Linked DNA regions of Homo sapiens: all the other regions are linked to region 6. Evidence: promoter capture Hi-C in 16 types of primary human blood cells and fetal thymus (Javierre and others, 2016). All regions are on one chromosome and are shown on one strand. Each heading gives the region's core, a stretch centred on a gene start or on the middle of the fragment in contact. The rest is flanking DNA. Distances are from core to core; before and after follow the strand shown.

What was found. The method cuts DNA at HindIII sites, captures the fragments that hold promoters and counts their contacts. A CHiCAGO score of 5 or more calls a contact.
Region 1: a contact is called between a fragment that was not itself captured here and the fragment with the promoter of PRRC2C in region 6, in 1 of 17 cell types (neutrophils). The highest score is 5.1, in neutrophils.
Region 2: a contact is called between a fragment that was not itself captured here and the fragment with the promoter of PRRC2C in region 6, in 1 of 17 cell types (fetal thymus). The highest score is 6.8, in fetal thymus.
Region 3: a fragment that was not itself captured here is called in contact with the fragment with the promoter of PRRC2C in region 6 in 1 of 17 cell types (total B cells); the score reaches 8.1 in total B cells.
Region 4: a fragment that was not itself captured here is called in contact with the fragment with the promoter of PRRC2C in region 6 in 4 of 17 cell types (total B cells, non-activated CD4 T cells, total CD4 T cells and 1 more); the score reaches 6.4 in total B cells.
Region 5: a fragment that was not itself captured here is called in contact with the fragment with the promoter of PRRC2C in region 6 in 2 of 17 cell types (total B cells and monocytes); the score reaches 7.2 in total B cells.
Region 7: a contact is called between a fragment that was not itself captured here and the fragment with the promoter of PRRC2C in region 6, in 1 of 17 cell types (total B cells). The highest score is 5.7, in total B cells.

What each region holds. Positions count from the first base shown.
Region 1 is chr1:169,882,511-169,886,070 of GRCh38, forward strand. The region is part of intron 2 of SCYL3 (SCY1 like pseudokinase 3); the gene reads right to left. Among named protein-coding and RNA genes, the nearest start is that of SCYL3, 9.6 kb to the right of the region's middle. The HindIII fragment of the contact is 3,614 bases long and covers 465-3,560 here.
Region 2 is chr1:173,478,090-173,481,668 of GRCh38, forward strand. PRDX6 (peroxiredoxin 6) reads left to right here. Exons shown (of 5, transcript NM_004905.3): 2 at 3,237-3,393. Among named protein-coding and RNA genes, the nearest start is that of PRDX6, 2.5 kb to the left of the region's middle. The HindIII fragment of the contact is 2,347 bases long and covers 751-3,097 here.
Region 3 is chr1:169,920,229-169,923,897 of GRCh38, forward strand. KIFAP3 (kinesin associated protein 3) reads right to left here. Exons shown (of 20, transcript NM_014970.4): 20 at 1,101-1,553. The coding sequence ends at 1,448. Among named protein-coding and RNA genes, the nearest start is that of SCYL3, 28 kb to the left of the region's middle. The HindIII fragment of the contact is 2,125 bases long and covers 407-2,531 here.
Region 4 is chr1:170,068,310-170,071,529 of GRCh38, forward strand. The region is part of intron 1 of KIFAP3 (kinesin associated protein 3); the gene reads right to left. Among named protein-coding and RNA genes, the nearest start is that of KIFAP3, 4.8 kb to the right of the region's middle. The HindIII fragment of the contact is 677 bases long and covers 1,422-2,098 here.
Region 5 is chr1:169,903,146-169,906,526 of GRCh38, forward strand. No RefSeq gene overlaps it. Among named protein-coding and RNA genes, the nearest start is that of SCYL3, 11 kb to the left of the region's middle. The HindIII fragment of the contact is 5,363 bases long and covers 1-3,381 here.
Region 6 is chr1:171,483,188-171,486,821 of GRCh38, forward strand. It overlaps PRRC2C (proline rich coiled-coil 2C), which reads left to right and starts at 2,343. Exons shown (of 35, transcript NM_001387844.1): 1 at 2,343-2,548. RefSeq lists enhancers at 1,932-2,241, 2,148-2,896. The HindIII fragment of the contact is 3,004 bases long and covers 2,149-3,634 here.
Region 7 is chr1:169,698,983-169,702,599 of GRCh38, forward strand. SELL (selectin L) reads right to left here. Exons shown (of 9, transcript NM_000655.5): 7 at 2,578-2,706. Among named protein-coding and RNA genes, the nearest start is that of SELL, 11 kb to the right of the region's middle. The HindIII fragment of the contact is 2,339 bases long and covers 124-2,462 here.

The DNA.
Region 1 (3,560 bases), core at 1,022-3,521, 1.6 Mb before region 6:
CTGGCAGGCAGCTCCACCTGCAGCCCCAGTGCGGGATCCACTGGGTGAAGCCAGCTGGGCTCCTGAGTCTGGTGGGGACGTGGGGAACCTTTGTGTCTAGCTCAGGGACTGTAAATACACCAGTCAGCACTCTGTATCTAGCTCAAGGTTTGCAAACACACCAATCAGCGCCCTGTGTCTAGCTCAAGGTTTGTGAATGCACCAATCCACACTCTGTATCTAGCTACTCTGGTGGGGACTTGGAGAACCTTTGTGTCCACACTCTGTATCTAGCTAATCTGGTGGGGAGGTGGAGAACCTTTGTGTCTAGCTCAGGGATTGTAAACGCACAAATCAGCGCCCTGTCAAAACAGACCACTGGGCTCTACCAGTCAGCAGGATGTGGGTCGGGCCGGATAAGAGAATAAAAGCAGGCTGCCCAGCCAGCAGTGGCAACCCTCTCAGGTCCGCTTCCACATTGTGGAAGCTTTGTCCTTTCGCTCTTTGCAATAAATCTTGTTGCTGCTCACTCTTTGGGTCCACACTGCCTTTATGAGCTGTAACACTCACCGCGAAGGTCCACGGCTTCACTCCTGAGCCAGCGAGACCACGAACCCCACCAGAAGGAAGAAACTCCGAACATGAGAAGGAACAAACTCCAGACACGCCACCTTTAAGAACTGTAACACTCACCGCGAGGGTCCGCGGCTTCATTCTTGAAGTCAGTGAGACCAAGAACCCACCAATTCCGGACACAATACTGCTGCTGATCTGACAGGAGACAGAACTCAGATGGTAATGCTCGCGTGCCCACTGCCCACAGCCTCCTGCTGTGCCATCCTGTTCCTAGAGGCCACGAACCAGTACCAGTCTGCAGCCTAGGGGTTGGGGACACCTGACTTAACATAATGTCCTCTAGGTCCTAACATGATATTAAAGCTCTAGGGTCTACCCTATACAATCACTGAGGAAGCCCTGTCCAATCAGATTGGGAGGAGAGTGATGAAATATTTCATTTGGAAGATAACCCTCAATATATTACCAGGTGGCATTTTCATAAATAAGCAGTGAATACTGAACACCTTCTTGGAGGACTATGGGCTAGCATAAGAATCCATACCCTGCATTGGTATAATTTTTGTATCAGATGCCTCAAACTTTATTAAACTACTTCCAGGCAGGGTCATAGGAAAATCTTCTCAGTGGGTTGGTTTCTCCAATTACATTTTTTTTTTTTTTTTTTTTTTGAGACAGAGTCTCGCTATGTCACCCAGGCTGCATTGCAGTGGCACAATCTTGGCTCACTGCAACCTCCGCCTCCCAGGTTCAACCAATTCTCCTGCCTCAGCCTCCCAAGTAGCTGGGACTACAGGCGCCCGCTACCACACCCAGCTAATTGTTTTTGTATTTTTAGTAGAGATGGGGTTTCACTATGTTGGCCAGGCTGGTCTTGAACTCCTGACCTTGTGATCCACCCACCTCGGCTTCCCAAAGTGCTGGGATTACAGGTGTGAGCCACTGTGCCCAGCCTCCAATTTCTTTTATTTTCTTATAATAATCTCAAATTTTGCCAACTCTGGGAATAGCTCCAATAGGGTTTATTTATTTATTCTTAGGAAGAAAGTTGTTACCCTCGAGTTAATTCAATAAAAAATAATTAAGAAAATATTGAAGAAAAAATTTCTTTAACTAGCAATTACAAACTAATAAATACAGCAAAGATCCAGATAAACCAAAAATTGTGTTAGCAGGTTGGTTAAATGAGTGCAGTTAACTGGGAATAATTTTTTACAAGTGTTTTTTTATTTCGTTTTGTTTTGTTTTTGAGACAGAGTGTCGCTCTTGTTACCCAGGCTGGAGTGCAATGGCGTGTTCTCAGCTCACTGCAACCTTCGCCTCCCAGGTTCAAATGATTCGTCTGCCTCAACCTCTCGAATAGCTGGGATTACAGGCGCCCACCACCATGCCTGGCTAATTTTTGTGTTTTTAGTAGAGATGGGGTTTCACCATGTTGGCCAGGCTGGTCTCAAACTCCTGACCTCAGGTGATCCACCTACCTCGGCCTCCCAAAGTGCTGGACTTATAGGCATGAGCCACCTTGCCTGGCCTACAGGTGTGTTTTGAGCTACGGTTTCTGTATAAAATTATGTAGCCTCCCTCATATTTTCATTTAAGAATCATTTCAAATAATTTTCAAACCAAATCTTTCATGTTCTCTTCTGCTTATTGTTTTACTCTACAATGCCTAGAAATTTTCTTGATGCAAAGTGAGTACTTGTTTGTTTAATAAAGAAGGAGAAGAAGAAATGACTCATTACATGTTTCTGAACAAGGCACTTAACTTAGCAAGAACCTTATTTCTCACTCTCCTTTGGTACATTTAATATTAAGCATAAATTATGCACACAGATTCACAGGAAAGGCTAGCAGTTCAGAATCAAATAGGACATTTTTTGATTCAAGCCTCTGCTGCTCTAAAGAATAGCAACAAGACATACTTGCTAAGGGTAACTAGGATATTTTTCAATGAACATCAGTTGAGCAAATAAATGGCTCTTGCCCTAGTAGAGAAAGATGACTATTTTTGAATGAGTGTCTTGAAAGCACTTTCCCCAAAGTTATTGAATACCTATTACATCCCATTTACTGTCCTAGGTGATGGTCTCTGAAAGAGGGTTCTGAGTAAGGACCTTTATTGTTAAATATGAATAGTATTATATAATTTATCAATGATGATATTTTTCTACACCCAAACAGGGATCTTAAGTATGAGATTCTTTCCCTAAATATAAATGATTCCCCTTTATCAGGAATCAGTTATGATTCAGCTATCCAGAGAATTCATTCAAGCCTCAGAGGCTTAACTTTTTATTGTTGTTCTGCCTCTGATTCGCTATTTCACTTTGAGAACTATGCAAAGTTAACTGACTCAGCATTACAGCCCAAATCCACCTGCAGGCTTTTAGATGAGACAAAGCCATAATTTCACGCTGTTAAATATGTTAAGTAAACAAAATAACCAAGATGCCTAAACTAGAGAACAAAGATCTTCAGGGAAAAATATTATTCCTTTTTCTCTGAAGATGTAAATCTAAGACAAAATGCAGATGCTTTTTTTTTTGTAAATGTCCACTATCTGAAGGTTAGATCATAAACTAACAATAAAATGCAGAAAGAGAAAGGAATAAAAATTCCATTCTGTAGAGCTTGCATTTGAGGTACTGATAAAACTTTTAGGTGGAAATGTTCAATAGGTAAGTGAAAATATAGATCTGGAGCTCAGACTAGAGATTTTGGCAGATAATTAGTTTAGAATGGCAGGTTGGATGGTTATTAACATCCAAGGAAAAAGGAGAGCGTGAAGTCTGCAAGGTGTGGTGGGGAGCAAGTAGCTGGCCATTCCATCTGGTGGGTCCATCATACCTGAGGCATGGGGGATACTTCTGAAGTTCTTCTGAGTGGATAGTGCCCAGAAGCCACGTAAGAGCACTGGATTCTGATTATGAAGGGCAAAAAATAATTTCTTAAAAAGTCAACCATGGGCCAGGTACGGTGGCTCATGCCTGTAATCCCAGCACTTT
Region 2 (3,579 bases), core at 674-3,173, 2.0 Mb after region 6:
CTGGGCACAAAATGTGAAATTTAAAACCACTAGCTGCCAAGTAGGTGGCCGAAAGACTTTTTGTCCAGAGCCGCCTCCAATGGCCAAGATATGATTTGATAACAGCTTTAGGAAGAGCCAAGAACACTCTGCGTAGGTGTGCCTTCAGAGATTCCAGAACTTGCAACACTTGGAGGGAAGGACTTTCTGACGCTGTTCCGCTGGAGTGGCCTATTCTTGCTAGTGATGGCCGTTCCAGGCTCCAGGACACGTGTACTCCCCAACTTTGAGACTCTCTTGTTTTCCAGTGGCTTGCCCCTCACTGTCCCCTCCGCTTTCTACCTTGCTTCTAGCACATGAGCTTGCTGATGATAGCCAAATTGATGACCTGTGATCTGACTTGGCAGTTTTACCATTATGGATAGGAGTAGTAAATCGGTGTTGCCCTTTTTTTTTTTTAACAGCTCCTGAATCAGCAAACTGGAAGTTGCTTAGTTTTCATCAGAAGCATTCCAGGCATGTCTAGTTATATTATGGTTCTGGAGTACTAGTGGTCCCACTACACTGTGGGGCTCCAAGGCTTGACAACAGTTCTTCCCCAGATTATATCCTTTTTATATACAGTATCCAGGGAGACAGGCTTATGAAATTAATCAGTGATTGGACAGGGCTGTGCAGAGAACCAGGGACAGATTCTTACACATCATATGCCTATCCAACCCTTTATAACCTCTTAAGTCCCTTTTCCAGCCACTGAATAGGGAAAAGTTAAGCTTTGTGAAAGATAGGACTAGGCCAGAAAAAGGTTGAGAAATGGAATATTCAAACCTTGAATGCAGAAAAATACTTTAGAAATACAGCTTATGGCCATTCTTATACTTAGGATCTAGGTAGTAATATTTCTCCAGCAATCCTTGGGATTTTTAGAGTTGTGTTCCTTCCCATTTCTACCTGCAGCCCTCATCCCCCATCCCCATGAAACATAAACTATTTCCAGAACTCTTAGCTTGTATAGATTAAATATTAGCATAAAACGTATTTACTGTGCCAACAGTTATAAATGCTGTCACTTTTTAAGCTAACCATACTTTTTTGGGGTTTTGTTAATGTTTATTGGCCTCTAGATCCATCTAGATTTGATCAAAAGTGGTACTTTATCAGGGAGCCATAGTTAGGAACACGGTAGAAATATCTGCATTTATTAACTAATATACAAGTCTGCCTAGGATCAGGTATAGTATTCCCTACCTTACCGGGAAGAGAAGTTTGAGCCTTTTATATGTTTATAACACATGGATTTTTGCCTGATTTTTCCAATTTTCTATTCTGTATATGATCCCAAATCAGACTGTCAATTTTTGATCCAGGTATTTTTGAGAAGAAAAAATTAAAATGTATTTCTCTACCTTACCCCTGATCATTGTAAACAACTAAAGAGGTTGGGTGCTACATTGGGTGAGTTTACCTTATCGCTGTTTCTTTAAGTGGTAGAAGCAGCTTCTTCATAGTACATCTTCACTAAGCAAAATATGTGTTTTCCAGGGGTCTTCTGGGGCTTAGTAAGTGGGAACCATTCTCTTGAAGGAGGAAACCTTTTGTCTTTTGAAAATGGGTAAGAAAATGGGAGCATGTCACTGAATTACTCTTAAGTGCAGCAGTAGGAAGACTTGGAGGGGAAGGAAGGCCAAGGTAAGACATTCTTGGAGTTTATCCTATTTGTAGCCATGAGGTAAACTGGAGTTTCACTTCTGAGGGAGGGAAGGACGTGAACTGGCTTAAAACCAGTTCCTTTTGCATGATTCAGCAAAACAGTCTTTATGGACTCACAGTGGAAAAAGAACTCCTAACTTTTCTAATTTATCCTCCTTTTAACGATAGAGGAGGAAACGCCCTGTTCCATTTCTTCTCAACTTCTGGAGACCTTCTGTTAAGTCTCATCTAACCATTAAATAGATCGTTTTCCATAGAATCTAAGGCCTAGATTTTACTCATAGTGATATTATCTACTTCAAAAGATATACTCTATGTTCTTCCTTTTGCCCTTCATAGTAAAGTGAACATAGTGCACACCTCCACAATCTTAAAAAAAAATACTAACTTTCCTCCCAGTCTTGCCATAGGGCCCTCCATCCTTTTTGTAAGAAGATCTTTTTCCTTCTTGAAACCTTGGGAGTTGAGTGGCAGCCGTAAGTAGGAAGGAGGTGCCCTTGTCTTTGCTTGTTCTCTGTGCTCAGGGAAACTTCAGAAAGGTCAACTTGGCATCTAGGCTAGATTTAGTTATCTACTAGTTTAGGATCCTGCCTAAATCATCTGGTTTAGGATGGTTTAAGTTGATGGGGATGTGGAGAACTGAGTGTTAAATTTTCCTTTTCAGTTGAAAGAGTAGTTTCTGTTGCCAAGAAGAAGGAAATGGTACTTCAGCTTTCTTCGTGACAGCTTGAAATGTGCTCAAAATTATAAAATCTTAGACAATGATGACTTAGATATTAGTATTTACCTAAGAATTTGCTGTTGTAGAAATCTACATTGCAGGCTATCAAAATTCTACCTGCTTGGTCTGAAGAAAGAAGAAAAAGAAACTGCAAATGAAGAGATAGGTAAAACTGTGAAGGTGCTATTGTTTTGTCAGAGTATAAATATTGGGTGTCATGTTTGGCAGGTAAGATCAGTAAAGTGGTTTTACAAAAGATTTTATATCCACTTGCTTCAGAGAAGCCAAGTGTCAACTTTAATTTTTACATATAAATAGAAGATAGAAACCTATTTATTTCAGATTACATAATTTGTTTATTATTGCAGTCAGGCATTTGTTTGGATTCAGGGCATACTGGGACATCCATTATTGGAGCTGAATGTCAGGGTCTATGCTAGAAAAAAATGTAGAAAAGGATAAGAAGAAATAATTAAGTGTTTTCAGTGAACTACTTGGCTTGAATAGCACAGATTGTATTAGCCAAAAAGGAGTCAGGGTGGCACCATAATTATTAAAGGAGGCAACACCTTAACATTAGTCTTTTTAAATATGTGTCATCTTGAATTTCATGTCTTTGATTGAATTGGGCTATAAGCATAGGCTTCTCTGGAGGTAAGTAGATTGAAAAGCACTCCTCAACAGAAAAGCTTAAAAGTAAATATCATCATAAGCATTCATTTAAAAAAGAAAGCCTGTTTTTGATCCAGAAGTTGTGACTTTTCATTCTCTGTGATGTTGGTGATAACTCTTAATTCAATTGTGACCTTGTTTTTCTTCCTTTCAGATGGGGCATTCTCTTCTCCCACCCTCGGGACTTTACCCCAGTGTGCACCACAGAGCTTGGCAGAGCTGCAAAGCTGGCACCAGAATTTGCCAAGAGGAATGTTAAGTTGATTGCCCTTTCAATAGACAGTGTTGAGGACCATCTTGCCTGGAGCAAGGTTAGTATCAATTGGCATGTGCTTTGAGCCTGAGATTATAGGTCAAGTTATAAATTATGGAGTACTTGGTTTTGAGGTTAAGGTACAAGTAAGCCTTAGGTTCAAAGTTCACTAATTATTTGAAAATTTCAGTTGAACCACACAGTGATCACATTGCTAAATCCATTGGTCAGTCAATTCTCAGCC
Region 3 (3,669 bases), core at 219-2,718, 1.6 Mb before region 6:
TCCTGGCCAGTTTTTTTGACTGCAAAAATTAGAGTTGGACAGGGTTGCTTCTAAGGCCTTTTCCAGCTTTAATATTTTATGGTTAAAATAGAAACTAAGACAAATAAATGTATGTTTTCAGAAAGATCAAAGGCATAAACATACCTCAGATTTACATCTCCTAAGGGGCATCATATACTTCCTTACACATAGCAGGTAGTCAGGAAAATATCTGTTGATTACATTTAAATTTTTTATGTGATTGGTTTCTTAAATAAGTAGATGGAATGAGTTATTTCAAAGGCCTTTTCCAAATGTTATCTTCTGCTTAAAATGTAATTTAAGCCACATAAATAGTGTAGTTAGATCAATGAGATTTTAAATTCAAGAACAGAAGTCTTATCTTTGATCTATGTATTCCCTTTGAAGCTTCATATTTTCTCCCATAGCAGGTGATCATGGAACTATCTCTGATTATAGTTATTATTATGGTTATTTCTTTGCTCAGCTTTTCAAGTAGAATTGAACATTTTTTTAATATGAAAACACTGAACTATTTTCAAAACCCATTATGAATTATATAATGTCTCTCCATTTCTTGCTATCTAAATGTACGTTATAAGAACAAGTGAACAATTGGGAACTGGGTACCCAAGTGAGTGAAATATTCTGTTCCTTAGTTTTCCTTAATGCGACTTTTAATTAGCTTTCCCATGCTTTAGATACTAAATTTATGAAGAATAAAAGTTAAAAGCCAAATGCTAATCTTGTATCACTGCTTGTCTTGTATACTACTTGTCCTAGGATTTCTATATTACAACTAGGAAGATATGAATTAAAACCACCAAAGAGACTATAACCATAAATAACTTATGACATATGTTCCATTATTAATTGAAAACTCATAGTTAATAAACTTTGGGAAGGAAACTTTCAGGCACATGGCATGGAATATGAAGGTGATGTTCTTTTTATAAATTTTAAAGGTAGCATATATTATACAAATTACTCAAGAGTTTACAAGCAGAAAAAAAGGAGAAAAAATAAAATTCACGCGCACCCTATATTAACATGTAATTCGTAGTGAAATGTGTGAAATATAAACACATGACTTTCACTTATTCATTTTCACTTTACGCTTTTTAATTGAAATTAAATTAGTCACTTAACATACATAATGCAGTGTTTGTTTTCCAGTCTAGTAGCTTTTCAGCATTCAGTTTTGTGGCTCATGGGAAATGTTACTTAGCATCAAGATGTGGTTTGATGAGTGAACAATGTCAGTATCAACTGTACTTAACAGAAGACAGAGGGGCTGGGGTTAATCTGCAGCTAACAACATATAAAAATAAAAACAAACACAGACCCACAATAACATCAACATGCATTATTAGGCAAAGATCCAAAATTAACCCAACCCACACAGATTTCTTCTAAGCTGAGATTACACATGGAAACAGATACTTTATCAAGATCCATAGCCATAGTAGTAAGGTTCATCAGGGCGGAATCCATATGCTGTGGCAGGGCGTCCAAGAATGCCAACTGGTTGGCCAAAGCCATCCATTCCAAGGCTAAAAAAGAAAAAAAAGAATGATAAGCTATGTTTTTCATCACACATCCACAATGCAGATTAAGAGGCCTACATTTTTATACCACCAAGATTCTCTTCCTAGCAGGGATAGTGATTTAGGTGGATATCATTAACTTTTTTTTTTAAGGTTAATAGAGCCATTAAAAGTGTATATAATAAAATACTTCTAACAATGTGTGTTAAAAGTATGGGAAACCTCTGTCAGTAGGTACTATTTGAAACAAAGTGGAAGAATCAAATCAGAAAAGTTTTATTTAATAAATTACTTATATATGGCTCTTAAGCAAAAATATGAAAAGATTTTACATGCTAGCAATGATCAGTAATATATTGCTAGGGAATGATAAAAATAAAACTGTAGTAAAGTGAGTTTTGCTGTTTATAATGTCTTTTCATATGAAGATACAGGACTAATTCCACTTTTAGTAAAAACATGTGTTTGAGTTATATCAGTGAACTCTCATGCAGGGCCAAATCATACCATAAGCCTATGATTAAAAGAACAAGATAAGGAATTTGACAAAATTTGAAAATTAGTCAGATTTGATCTGCAAATCCTTCCTCTGATTCCTCAATGCAAACAATTACAAAACATATCTATTTCTTTTGAGTGACAGCAAGACAATTACAAATTTTGGTTCAACTTATTCTATGGGAATAACAGAAACCCAAAGATAACCTTCAGAGTTGTAAAGATAGCTTGAAGTATGTTAAACTTCATGATTATTATTTTAAAAAAATTACTTGTTGGTCTATTAATACATTATTTAGAGGAAAATCTGTTCTCCAAAGTCCTTTTTAAAGGTCAGGGAATTATCCAACACTTAGGAAAATGATAAAGTATTTATTTTGCCAGGCAGAACATGGTGGCCTTAACATGCTCATGCATAGCTCATGCAGTGAATGCTAGTGAGCTTGACTTCCAATCAATGGACACCATTTGTAATGCAGAAATGTAAGCTTTGGAAAAATAAAACATATTTAAATGATTTAAGATTTAAGTTTGCACTACATGAGATGGAAAGATAATTTTCCCTCAATAGCAAAAACTGAATGTGATGAAAAAATATATTCACATAGGCACTAACTCCCTGTCACACTCAGAGTGAGATTAAGTTGACACACTTTAGAAGTAACTATTAAAATGTTAAGGTTTTAAATAAATGTGTGAATGCGTGTGTGTGTTTGTGTGCACGCGTGCTTGTGTGTATTAAGATGGAACTAAAGAGTAAATGTAAAGAGCCAAAATACATATAACACATACTGGTCCAGTGACTCTGCCCTTTAGGAGAATGGAAGTTCTGAAATACAAGTTTCAGGTTAGCATTTGTACTGAGCGATTCTGGACAAAATTTGTTGTTTTGGGGTCCTTCTATATAAAAACTCTGTCTATAGTTTCTCAAAGTTGGTTGAAATTTTTAAGTCTACATTTTATTTTGAAATGGTAAAAATATAGGCACTTTTTCTAACTTTGATCTCATGGGAAGAGAGACTAAATTTTGTGATGAGGAAATCAAGAGGTAGCTTAAAAGATGCTTCAGAAATTAGTGGAATCAGTGAACTAAGAGACACTGGTATCAGCTTAAAATTAGAGAAGTTATTGAAAACTGTTCTCTGCAAGCACTAAGGCTAACAAGTAATCATGTATCTAAAGAACTCTCAATTATATAACTGTTGATTACATAGCTTGGATTTCAACTTGTTCCTTCTTCATCTTTTGCTTATTACCTGTCTTCAACCAGTCCTTATCTTTTTTAGCAACTCCTCTGAGGCCAAATAGCAGTAGACTTAGGTTAAACTCAAGTTAATCTTATGCTTGTTTCTCAATCTAGGGGCTATGGCAAGATCTATTTCAGTAATATGAAAACAAGAGGCATATGTGGGACAGTGAGGAAACATGCAAAGGCACCTTCAGAGTATCTCACAGACGACTTGTTAGCAATATCACTGTAATTCTACCTAAAAGAAGATGGTCCTCAGAAGGGAGTTCACCAGTCATTGGCACAGAACAAGGAGCGTCTCAGCTACAACGCTGGTTGTAGCAACCTAGGCAATTGCGTGGTGATCTGGTAAGCTATAACACCATAAGGAATATC
Region 4 (3,220 bases), core at 510-3,009, 1.4 Mb before region 6:
GTGCAAATAACTAAGAAAAAGGAGAAACACAATGTCTCAACACATAAATAGTTTAAAAATATATTATCATAAGGATCCAAACAAAAACACTAGATCTGAAAAGTACAATAACTGAAATAAAAAAATCACTACAGGGTTTTTAACAGCAGATCTGAGCAGAGAGAGAAAAGAATCAGCAAACTTGAAGATATGTCAAATGAAACTGTCCATTTTGAGGCACAGAAAGAAAACAGAATGAAGAAAAATAAACAGAACCTAAGAGACTTATGGAACACCATCTAGTATACCAACATATGCATAATGAGGGTATGAAAGGAGAGGAAGAAAGAAACATAGAGAATACTGGGAGAAAAAACAGTCAAAAACTTCCCAAATTAGACCAAAGACAAACTTACACATCCAAGAAGCTCAATGAAATTCAAAGATAAACTCAAACAGATCCACAATAAGACACTCTATACTGACGCTCTATTTAAAAAAATAAATAAAAGATTTTGAATTAATAACCTAATTTTACACCTTAAGGGGCTAGAAAAAGAAGAGCAAACAAAACCCCAAGCTAGCAGAAGGAAATAATAAAAAGCAGCAACAGAGACTAGAAAAAGAATAGAGAAAATGAAACCAAAGGTTAGTTCTTTGAAAAGATCAACAAACATTTTTGGAAAACTTTTAGTTAGACTGACTAAAAAAGAAAAGAAGAGACTCAAATTACTAAAATCAGAAATGAAAGTGGGACATTACTGCTGCTCTTTTGATGATTAAAAAATTACAAGAGAATAATATGAACACCAACAAATTGGATAACCTACATGAAAAAGAATAATTCCTAGAAACACACAAACTACCAAAACTGACTCAAAAGACACAGAAAATCTGAACAGAATTAGAAGTAAGGTGATTGAATCAGTAATCATAAACCTTTCAACAAGTCCAGTACCAGATGGCTTCACTGGTGAATTCTACCAAGCATTTAAAGACAAATTAACATAAATACCCCTCAAACTCTTCCAAAAGATATAACAGTAGAGGAAACACTTCCTAATTCATTCCATGAGGCCACCATTACCCTGATACCAAAGCAAGACAAAGACACTACAGGAAAACCTTTAGACCAATACCCTTTATGAATGTCGATGTGAAAATCCTCAAAATACTAGCAAACAGAATACAGGAGTATATTAAAAGGACCACGCAACATGGCCACATGGGCATTTCAATACAATACACCACATTAATGGAATGAAGAAAAAAAGTACATGATTATCTCAATCGATGCAGAAAAAAGCATCTGACAAAACCCAACATCTTTTCATGATAAAAGTACTTGATAAATTAGGAATAGAAGAAAAGTCCCTTAACATAATAAAGGGCATATATGAAAAATCTACAGCCAATATCATACTCAATGGTGAAAGAATGAAAGCTTTCCCCCTAAGATCAGGAACAAGACAAGAATGTTTATCCACTTTCCTGACTTCTATTCAACATAGTACTGGAAATTCTAGCCAGAGCAATGAGGCATGGGAAAAAAAAATAAAAAGGCATCCAGATTGAAAAAGAAGAAGTAAAATTATTTCTATCTGCAGAAGACATAATCTTATATATAGAAAATTCTAAAAATGGCACAAAAAACTGGCTAGAGCTAATAAATTCAGCAAAGTTGGAGAATAGATCAGAACACACCAAAAAAATCCACTGTTTTTCTACATATTGGAGCTGAAAAATATGAAAAGGAAATTTAGAAAACTTCATTTCCAATAGCATCAAAAAGAATAAAATACTCAGGAGTAAACGTAACCAAGGAACAACTGTATACTGAAAACAAAAAGTTGCTGAAAGAAATTAATATGAACTAAATGAAAAGAAATCACATGTTCATGGACTGAAGGACTTAATATTGTTAAGATGGCAATATTCCCCAAAGTGATCTATAGATTCATTATATTCCCAAAGTTTCAATAGCTTTTTTTGCAGAAATGAAAAAGCCAACCCTAAAATTCAAATGGAAATATAAGGAACCCTAAATAGCTGAAACAACCTTGAAAAAGAACAACAAAGTTGGAGGACTCACACTTCTGGATTTCAAAACTCACTACAAAGCTTCAGTAATCAAAACAGTGAGGTACTAGCACACGGACAGATAGATCAATGAAATATAATTGAGAGTGCAGGAATAAACCCCAACATTTTTGGTCATTTAATTTTCAAAAAAATTGCCCAAACCATTCATGGAGGAAAAGAACAGTCAATTGTTCTTTTCTGACATTTGTTCTGACAAATGATGTCAGAACAACTAGATAGTCACATATAAAAGAATGAAGATGGACCCTTGCCATATACCATAGACAATAACTAACTCGAGATGGATCAAGGATATTAAATGTAAAAGCTAAAACTGTAAAACTCTTAGAAGAAAACAGAGGGACAAACCTTCATGACCTTGGATTTAGCAGTGGTTTCTTAAATAACGATGCCAAAAGCATGAGCAACAAAAGAATAAATTAGACTTCACCAAAATTAAAAATGTTTGCATATGAAAGTTTTACATACCAAGATAGTGCAAAGAAAACCCACAGAATGGGACAAAGTATCTGTAAATCATGTATCTGACAAGGTTCTATTACAAAGAACTCCTTTTCCCAAAGAATAAAGACAAATGGCCAAGAAGCACATGAAAAGCTCAATGTCATTAGTAATTAGGGAAAGGCAAATCAATACCAAAATAAGATACCATTTGATATCCACTAGTATAGTAATAATTACAGAACAGAAAATAACAGGTGTTAGTGAGGATACGGAAAACTGAATTCTTATACATTGCTGGTGGGAATGTAAAATGGTGCAGTCACTAGGGAAAACACTTTAGTGGTTCCTCAATGAATTAAACATAGAATTACCATATGGTCTGGCAATTCCAGGCCTAGGTATACACCAAAAGATACAAAACAAGTGTTCAAACAAAAACTTGTACAGTAATGTTCACAGCAGCTTTATTCCCAATAGCCAATAGGTAGAAACAACCCAAATGTCCACCACCAGATGAGCAATAAACAAACAAAATGTGGTATATCCATAAAATGGAATACTGAATTAGTCAATTTTATGTTGCTATAACACAATACCTGAGACTAGGTAATTTATAAGGAAAAGGGGTTTATTTAGCTTACAGTTCCGCAGGCTGGGAAGTTCAAGGGCATGACTCTGGCTTCCAGTGAGGGCT
Region 5 (3,381 bases), core at 369-2,868, 1.6 Mb before region 6:
AAATTGGTACCACAAAATTAACTCTCCAGACAAAGGTTGGGCCAGGTGTGCATTTGGTTAGGTCTCAGAGGGGAGCTCAATTCAGGGCACTCTTTCTGCTCCCCGTGATAGTAGACAGTGAAGTCACTTGTCTGCTGGGTAGATGTGTGCATTTGGAGCTTTGCTGTGTCTTCATTTTGAGTACTTTTATTGCCGCCTAAAAAATGCCTGGACCAATGAATGGCTGAACAAAATGTATTCCAAACAATGGAATATTATTTGGCCATTGGAAGGGATAAAGTTTTCATACGTGTGACAACATGGATGCTGTGAAAACATCATGTTAAGTGGAAGAATCCAGGCACAAAAAGCCACACATTGTTTGAGTGCATTTATATGAAATGTCCAGGTTAGATAAATCCACACAGAAAGAAAGCAGATACATGGTTGCTAGGGGCTGGGGGTAAGGAGGAATGGGGGCATGACTGCTAATGGGTAGGAGGTTTCCTTTTGGAGTGATGAAAGCATTCTGGGAACTGGATAATGGTGATGGTTGTGCAACCTTTAGAATATACTAAAATCCACTAAATTATATTTTTAAAGTACATTTTAAATGTAAATTTTAAAAAGGTACTTTTATGGTATCTGTATTATTTCTCAATTAAAAAAAAAGACCATGCTATGTGTATTAGTCCATTCTTGCTCAGCTATAAAAACATACCTGAGACTAGGTAATTTATAAACAAAGGAAGTTTAATTGGCTTATGGTTCCGTGGGTTGTACAGGCTTCTGCTTCTGGGGAGGCCTCAGGTGACTTAAAATGATGGCAGAAGGTGAAGGGGAAGCAAGCACATCTTACATGTCAGAAGCAGGAGGAAAAGAGTGAAAGGGGAGACCCTACAGACTTTTAAACAGCCAGATCTCATGAGAACTCTGTCACGAGACAGCACTAGGGGGATGGCGCTACATCATTACAAACCACCTCCATGATCCAGTCACCTCCCACTAGGTCCCACCTCCAACACTGAGGGTCATACTTCAACATGAGATTTGGGTGGGGACACAGAGCCAAACCATATCACTGTGTACGAGCATGTACACAGGTACACATGAAGGGAGATGAATATCACATTCATCAAGTCATTAACAGTTGAAACAAAGTGGAACTCTATCAACAGCATGTGCCTTATAACATATTCTGTGTTATTAAAAGTCAAATTTGAGAAAACTAAAAATTGAGGATACTCATAAAGACATTAGAAATGTTAAAAAATAAAAACAAGTAGCTAGACTTGGTAATTTCAGTGAGAAATGATTGATAGGCCCTGATGTGGTTTGGCTCTGTGTCCCCACCCAAATCGCCTGTCAAATTCTAATTCCCAGTGTTGGGGGAGGGACCTGGTGGGAGGTGACTGGATCATAGGGGTGGATTTCCCCTGTGTTCTCCTGGTGATACTGAGTTCTCATAAGATCTGGTTGTTTAAAAGTGTGTGTGTAGCACCTACCCCTGCTCTCTTTCTTTCCTGCTCCATCATGTGAAGAAGGTGCTTGCTTCCCCTTCGCCCTTCCACCATGACTTTAAGTTTCCTGAGGATGCCCCAGCCATGCTTGCTATACAGCCTGTGGAACTGTGAATCAATTAAACCTCTTTTCTTCATAAATTACCCTGTCTCAGGTTGTTCTTTCTAGCAATGTGGGAATGGACTAACACAGGCTCAGCGTCCCTTTCTTAACTATTTCACTCCATTTCTGGAGTTTGTATGAACCCTCCAAACTTGTGTGGTTCTCCTTTTCAAAATCACCAAATTAAAACTGATGCCTTTGCAGAGAGTAGCAGGTGGTTGCCAGAAGCTGTGGGGTGGGGGAAATTGGGAGATGCTGGACAAAGGGTATAGACTTTCAGTTTAAGATGACTAAGCTCTGGGGATCTAACATACAACACACTGATTACACTTACTAATACTGCATTGTATACTTGACATTTGGAGACAGTGGATTTTAAGTGGCTTCCCCCTTCCTCACCCCACATACACACAAATAGTAACTAATTGTGGTGATGATAATCTTTTTTTTTTTTTTTTTTTTTTTAAAGACAAAGCCTCACTCTGTCACCTGGACTGCAGTGCTGTGGTGCAATCAGGACTCGCAGCAGCCTCAACCTCCCAGATTCAAGCGATCCTCCCAACTCAGCACCCCTCACGTTCTCCCCACCCCCAACTAGCTGGGACTACAGGCATGCACCACCATGCCCAGCCAATTTTTTCTAGAATTTTAGTAGAGATGAGATCTCTCTTTGCTGCCCAGGCTGGTCTTGAACTCCTGGGCTCAAGTGATCCCCCCACCTCGGCCTCCCAAAGTGCTAGGATTACAGCTGTGAGCCACCGTGCCTGGCTATGATAATCATTTCACAATGTATCCATCTATCAAGTCATCACAGTGTACACCTTGAATACATACAATTTTTAATCTGTCCATTATATCTCAATAAAGCTGGAACACAACAATAAGATTCCTTCAGCCCAGGACTGGAAATAAAGAAGCTCTTAGAATGGTGATCATTAAAAAGTCAAGAAACAACAGGTGCTGGAGAGGATGTGGAGAAATAGGAACAGTTTTACACCGTTGGTGGGACTGCAAACTAGTTCAACCATTGTGGAAGACAGTGTGGCGATTCCTCAAGGATCTAGAACTAGAAATACCATTTGACCCAGCCATCCCATTACTGGGTATATACCCAAAGGATTATAAATCATTCTACAATAAAGACACATGCACACATATGTTTATTGAAGCACTATTCACAATAGCAAAGACTTGGAACCAACCCAAATGTCCAACAATGATAGACTGGATTAAGAAAATGTGGCACATATACACCATGGAATACTATGCAGCCATAAAAAAGGATGAGATCATGTCCTTTGTAGGGACATGGAGGAAGCTGGAAACCATCATTCTGAGCAAACTATCGCAAGGACAGAAAACCAAACACTGCATGTTCTCACTCACAGGTGGGAATTGAACAATGAGAACACTTGGACACAGGAAGGGGAACATTACACACCGGGGCCTGTTGTGGGGTGAGAGGAGGTGGGAGGGATAGCATTAGAGATATACCTAATGTAAATGACGAGTTGATGGGTGCAGCACACCAACATGGCACATGTATACATATGTAATGAACTTGCATGTTGTGCACATGTACCCTAGAACTTAAAGTATAATAAAAAATAAAAATAACAAACATTTTTAAAAGAATAAAAAGTATTTCTGCTTCTGGTAAAAAAAAAATAAAAGAAAAAAGAAAAAACCCTGACAGTTAAGCTAACCAAAAGGTGATGTTTCCTTGACTCACCCTCCTGGAGTCTAAGCCTTAGTGGGCAGCTCCATGTCCCACCTGGT
Region 6 (3,634 bases), core at 1,093-3,592:
TACGCCACCTGGACAACAGAGTGAGACTCCATGGGGAAAAAAAAAAAGAAAGAAGGAAGGAAGGAAGGAAGAAAAGGCAGGCAGGCAAGGAAGGAAGGAAGGGAGGGAGGGAGGGGAGGGGAAGGGAGGGAGGGAGGGAGGGGAGGGGAGAAGGAGGGAGGGAGGGGAGGGGAGGGGAGGGAAATGAGAAAATGTACTCAAGAAAAGATAGCACCTTGGGTCCATGCTGGCATACCGGAGGCTTTCTGTTTCTGGCAAAAATTAAAAGAAAAAAAGAAAAAAAAAGTATTGGCTTTGCAGTTGTTGAGTGTTCAGGTGTATAAATTAAAGCTCTTAGAAATTAATAATTTAATACATGTCTTTTTTTTTTTTTTTTTTTTTTTGAGACAGAGTCTCGCTCTCTCGCTCTGTTGCCCAGGCTGGAGTGCAGTGGCAGGATCTGTGCTCACTGCAAGCTCCGCCTCCTGGGTTCACGCCATTCTCCTGCTTCAGCCTCCTGAGTAGCTGGGACTACAGGCGCCCGCCACCACGCCCGGCTAATTTTTTTTTGTATTTTTTAGTAGAGACTGGGTTTCACCGTGTTAGCCAGGATGGTCTCGATCTCCTGACCTTGTGATCCGCCCGCCTCGGCCTCCCAAAGTGCTGGGATTACAGGCGTGAGCCACCGCGCCCGGCCATACGTGTCAGTCTTATGACCTTGGTTAATGTAATTTCATCTGATTGCTGAAGTTGTTCTCCATTGCTCAAGACAGATGATTTGGCTGGGCGTGGTGGCTCATGCCGGTAATTCCGGCACTTTGGGAGGCCAATGCGGGAGGCTTGCTTGAGCTCAGGAGTTCGAAACCAGCCCAGTCAACATAGCAAGACCTCGTCTCTACTGGCAAAAAAAAAAAAAAAAAAAAAAAAAAGCCAGGTTTTGTGGCAAGCACCTGTAGTCCCACCTACCTGGGAGGCTGAGACAGGTGGATTGCTTGAGCCTGGGAGGTTGAGGCTTCAGTGACCTGTGATTATGCCACTACACTCCAGCCTGGGCAGCAAAGTGAGACCCTGCCTCCAAAAAAACAAAGAAAGATGTTTCTGTGACCAGGACACTATAGACCAGATCCTAGAAGGTTGTAGAAATTCACTAAAGTAATGCTTCCTTGTCCTCTTGTGGATGATCAGTAGGCTTTCCCCTGGCAATGACCCTATATCAATAAAAAAACTTTTTCTTTTCTTCTTTTCTATTTTTTCGAGAAAGAGTCTCGCTGCAGCCTCAACCTCCTGTGCTCAAGTGATCCTTTTGCCTCCAGCCTCCCAGGTAGCTAGGACTATAAGCATGTGCCACTATGCCTAGCTAGCTTTTTTTCTTTTTAATTTTTTTGCAGAGGTAGGGTCTCACTATGTTGCCCAGATTGGTCTTGAACTCCTGGTCTCAAGCAATCCTTTTGCCTTGACCTACCAAAGTATTAGTATTACAGGCATGAGCCACCAAGCAAGTCCAGACTTTTCTACTTCAAATTAATATTAGTGGGGAGGGAGGTGTTCATAATTTACCTCTCTTTATTATTTCATTTATTCTAACATTGCTACAGTGACAATTCCATGGACATACACCAGCTACTGGCGGGGAAGATCGTTCAGACCAGAAGTGGTAAGAAATCCTTGAATTTTAAATATGTCATAGGTAGTTCACAAAGAGGACAAAAGATACCATTTACTAAACATTCGCCATCTGTTCTGACATAATATTATCATCATTGTAGTCTCCCACTTCCAGATACACTCATCTGCCTATGTTACACTTGCCTAGTAAAAGCCAGCATGGGTGAATCTTACTATTCAACGGAGCTGAACACTGTGATGGAGAGATCATATAAATAAACTGAATGGCTTATCTCACATCCATAATTAGAAACTTAAAAAGTGCTCTCAGCAGCCCATGCTACTCTGTTCCTCACACTAGTTTTACTTTCACTCTCTGTGATAACTTTTCAATACACCAAGACTTCTCAGCTTGCCCCAAATTCACTGAGACATACTGGCGAACTGCTGGTTCAACCATTTACACATCCACCCACCAGACATAAGAGTGCTCATTTCACTGAGGCTTATTATCAACTTGTAAACGTGGTCAATTCAAGACTTCTTAGAAAGGTCTCAGGTCCAAGCTTTGTCCTGAAAAGATAATTCTGATTGCAGAAACTCCCTCCGTCCAGCAGGAAGCGCCAGCACCCTCTGTCGGGGTTGGGCCGCCACGGAGGCTTCACGTGATCCGGCCGTCTCTGCGCAGGAGTGTGGTCTTGCGGAGATTTGACCTACGTACTTAGCGTCATGACGTAGTACGTAGGGGCTGGCTAGCCGCCATCTTGCTTCTTTTTCTCGCTCGCTCGCTCCCCCTCGGAAAGCTGCGAAAGTGCTTTGGCGGTTTGTCCATCCGCAGCTTCGGCTTTTCCAGTCTGGTGGCCCTTCCGGCCACCCCTTTAACCCCAGCTTTCCCTCCCCCTTCTTTCGATCAGAGATCGGCGGAGACCCTCGAAGTGCGCAAACTTGACACTCACCCTGACCGGTAAGGAAAGCGAGGGTGTGGGGGCCGCGATCAAAGAGGGCCCCATCGGGAACGGCCAGAGTGCGGCCTGGGGCGTGGGAGCGCACCCAGACCCTGGCGCCCGGAGGCTAGGGGGCCGCGTGGAGAGGGCCTTGGGTCCGGGCATTTCCCTTCTGTTTGGTTACCATCATCTCTGTGTCTGGGGAAGTCGGCCTCCAGCTTGGGGAGCGGGAAACCGGAGTCAGACCCGCCCCATGTGGTCTGCAGCGGGAGTTCTGGACCGGTCTGTCTTGCTCCCACCTAGACCCCAGTCCTGGCCCTGCGAGGGGATTACGCATGTTGCCGGGTAAGCGAAGGGGGTTTCCGTCTTCCTGGACTGGCGGACGTGAAGTCTTTTTTTTTTTTTTTTTTTTTTAGTGTCGGGTATGCGTTTCCCCAAACAACTGAAGGACTCAGCCGGGGCTTTCACTGTCTACCTCTTCCTGTGTAGTGAGGGTGGGACTTGCAATGAGCAATGTATGGGAGGGTCTGGTTTAAAGACCTGGTTAGATGAGAGGCTCTTCGGGGAATCAAGACCAACCCTACTTCCGCTAGGGAAGTGCTGCCCAACTCCGGAGGAGGATTTGGGTAGTCTTTTCACACTCTAGGCCGCTCCATCCTCTAACTTGCGTGGTGAATCTCGGTAGCTCCCTGTCTTTGAGATAGCGTTGATATTGGTGGTGTCAGGGTAAAGGCCCCGTTTTAGGACTGAAGAAAAGGGCATGGGGCCACTATAGAGACATTGATAGAGTCTTCCTTCCTTTGCATGAGAGGAGTACCTTTAATTTAAAGGGATGTATGTGTGTTTTGACATTATTTGGGATCTTTTGAGGGTCTGACATGCCTGATGTTTGCTGGCTTATAAAGCTACCTGGATTTCCGCATTGGCTGGTTTTCAGCCTGGGTTCATAGATTCATACCTCGTTAGAGTACTTAGAATTGTACAGTAGGCGGCTCTGCTGTAAGATTTTCATTTGGAATGCACCAGAAGAATCGGAGGATTTTTTGATTGTTGAGTACTTAATAGCTTACTCCTGCAAATAAAAATAATAGGGTGATACTAAGCAC
Region 7 (3,617 bases), core at 43-2,542, 1.8 Mb before region 6:
TTGAACTCGTGGGCTCAAGTAATCCTCCTGCCTCAGCCTCCAAAAGTGCTGGGATTAGAGGTGACAGCCAAGGTGCCTGGCCCACAGATGAAGACTATTTAATGTTATCTTAAAGATACCCTAAGCTTCCTACCAAGCCAGTGATCTTTTGGGGCTTCTGTTTTCTTTGTTGGCATAACTGTAACTAGCCTAACTGCCCGTTATCTGTTTCCTGTTTGCCCCACACTGATTCCCACAGCAGTTTTCAAGTTATCGGTTTGAGATCTTGTACAGAAATGACTCCAAGGTAAAAAATTTAAAAACAACCCCTCTAATTTTTTTACCCTTGCTTATAAAACAGCCTTAGCCAGCTAACCCCTCACTACATGCAAATGAGTTTGATTCTATTCTTTTGATTCTACAAACACTTATTAAAAGATTTTAGAATTCGGAAATAAATAGCTTCCTTATTAAGGTGACTTACAGCCCCAAAGTCCTTAAAATTATTTAGACAATAGCCACCTTATCCCAGGGGGCAGTGTGTAATAACCCACCCTGTTCTCTATCCGTCAGTTCTGCCATCATCGCCCAAGGTAGGAAGAAAGACAGGACAACCGGGGTCAAGATTTGAAGTCTCAATGGAAAGAATAATCAGTGGTTGGAGAAAACTGTCATTCTTCTTTTGCCTTAATGCAGTACTTGATACTTATACTTAGTACTGTATAGTACTTAGTACTGTATAATACTATAAGATAGTGAGATTCAATCAGCACAGAATTTCTAATAGCAAGGGCAGAGACATTTTAACTGCTCAGTGCTCTCAGGTTATACATAGCTAATGAAGTTCTTGCATATCAACAATCCCCACCCCCCTCACACACTTTGTCTTTCTGGATTGGTTAGAAAACTTACCTAGCGCCCACTATTCTCAAATTTAAATGAAAGATAAGATCAGAGTGGCACGCAATTAGGGACTGATAAATAATATTTTTGTAATTGCCAGTGTAAATGGACAGGGGGCAACCTTTACATACCATATTCAGTGAACAGAATACGTACTAACTAATTTGATGGAAGGAAAATTAAAATGACAATCAACTGAGCCCACAGAAAGGCAACACAGAGCAGTTGGTTAGCAATTGTTTCGAGATCATCCCTGAACTTGAAACAGGTATATCTTTTTTTTTTTTTTTTTTGAGACAGAGTCTCACTCTGTCACCAGGCTGGAGTGCAATGGTGCGGTCTCAGCTCACTGCAACCTCCGCCTCCCGGGTTCAAGTGATTCTTCTGTCTCAGCCTCCCGAGTAGCTGGGATTACAGGTGCCCGCCACCACGCCTGGCTAATTTTTGTATTTTTAGTAGAGACAGGGTTTCACCATGTTGGCCAGGCTGGTCTTGAACTGCTGAGCTCATGATCCGCCCGCCTCGGCCTCCCAAAGTGCTGGGATTACAGGCATGAGCCACCACACCTGGCCAAAACAGGTATATCTTAAAAGCTGCCCAATGTCCATGAATGTTACAGCCTTGAATGGTTCTTCCAGGTGAGTTTGGCCAAATGTGGCACCATACACCCAAGGCCTGCTGCAGGCTAGTGGGTTGCTCACACTTTAAAGCTGAGACACACTCATGCCTTAAGGTAAAGGGAGTGATAATCTGGGCAGCAGATGTTAACTTCTCAAGGCAGTCCTCCTTCTCTTTTCCTCTCCAGTGACGGATGGTTGGAAAGCATATATGGTGCATTTGGTTAGAGCTGTGGCCTTGGTGAATAGATACTTGGGAGAATACATGGGAATTTCTCCCAGGGTTAATGCAATGCCCATGTGTTGGGAACCAGGTGACTCTTGAAGAGGTCAGGTATTTGGGAGCAGTGCCTTGAAACCTTAGTGGACATTAGACCCACTTCCTAGTGGAATTGTAGCATTGAAATCCAAGGCATGTAGGCTCTTAGAGGACAGAGATAGTGTGTCATTTTTTCAGAATTAATTAAGAGCAGGCCAGGCGTGGTGGCTCACACCTGTAATCCAAGCCCTTTGGGAGGCCAAGGCAGGCAGATCACGAGGTCAGGAGATCGAGACCACTCTGGCTAACACAGTGAAACCCCGTGTCTACTAAAAATACAAAAAATTAGCTGGGCATGGTGGCACGCTCCTGTAGTCCCAGCTACTTGGGAGGCTGAGGTGGGAGAATAGCTTGAACCCAGAAGGCGGAGGTTGCAGTGAGCTGAAATTGCACCACTGCACTCTAGCCTGGTGACAGAGTGAGGCTCTGTCTCAAAAAAAAAAAAGTATTAAAGAATTACATAAGAGCAAAGAACCATTAGAATATCTCACTTAGTTGTTATCAGCCTAGCAAGCTGCCTTGAAGGTAATAGACATTTTTAAAAGTTTATCAGATGAAAAGCGAAAATCAGCCAACCTGTTTTAATGAAGGTGTGTCCTGGGCTGATTTACATGTCTCCAGGGACTGATGGCTCTAGAATGTAAAGCTTGGCATCCTGCTTGTGTTGAATCTATCACATTTAATTTCCTGTGGGTTTCTTTTTTTTTTCTTTTTCACTTTAAAGTTGTGTTCTTTTCATGTGAAGTTAAACTCACATACCTTTTTTTAATCTCCTTGCCAGCCAAATGATAAATGCCAACCCAGAGAATGCAGTAACCATGACTGCCACTGGAATGAAGAGGGGGTTATAATCACCCTCCTTAATCATTGAGAAACTTTTGTCCAATTCTGAAAGAGAAATCAGTAAGGCACATAGCATGAGACCACCAGCATTATTTCCTTAGTCTATCTCATGATATTTGACTTTTTTCCTCCTTACATCTCCCAGTAGTAGCCCATTTGATGCCATTTGACAGATGAGGAAACTGGCATGGGAAGGCCCCTGATGAGTCTACAGCATAGGCAAAGACTGGACCAGCCTTGCTAGTCTAATGCCTACAGAATCTCAATGCCCAGATTTGTGGTTCATAGAGTTCCTGAAAATGCACCTAAAAATGTTGGCAAGAATGGTCATCGTTGTATTTAGCTCCATGGACTTGTTCAATGACTGGAACTCTGAAACACAGAGAAGAGCTAAAAGCCTAATACAACTTCAGGAAAAATAAAAGCCAATGATCTGAACTGGATAATTCACCAGTCAAAGGAAATCATTAATGCTTTTACTTTAAAGCAGTTGTGCAAAAATAAGCACTTGATTTTTACATGCCAAGGACCTGCACTAATTTCTTTCCAATGCAGTAGTTACCACTTCCCTCTACTTCCTTCACGAATAAGTAAAAGGGCATGTTTAGAGATACTCTTGTAAGTGTAAACTAAGTTCATTTGGGAGCCTCTATTTGAAAATACTGGTATAAAAAAAAATCTGTCTCCTGATACTAACATTTGAAGGAATCTACTTTTTTACATATTGGCAGAGGGTCTGATTCTATCCTTAGTTCTTCCCATTACTTTGATGAACCTTTTCAAGGTGATTTGATCCCCACACCCAAATATATGATTGAGAGAAGGCTCAAGTTCCCAGGAGCTCCAGACAGAAGGTACCTGTTGGCTTGATGAAGATGAGGAGGAAATGAACACTAGCTAGGCCTTAAAGGGAAATGTCTCTGATAGGCCTAATACACAGTCCTCTGCTAAAGGCC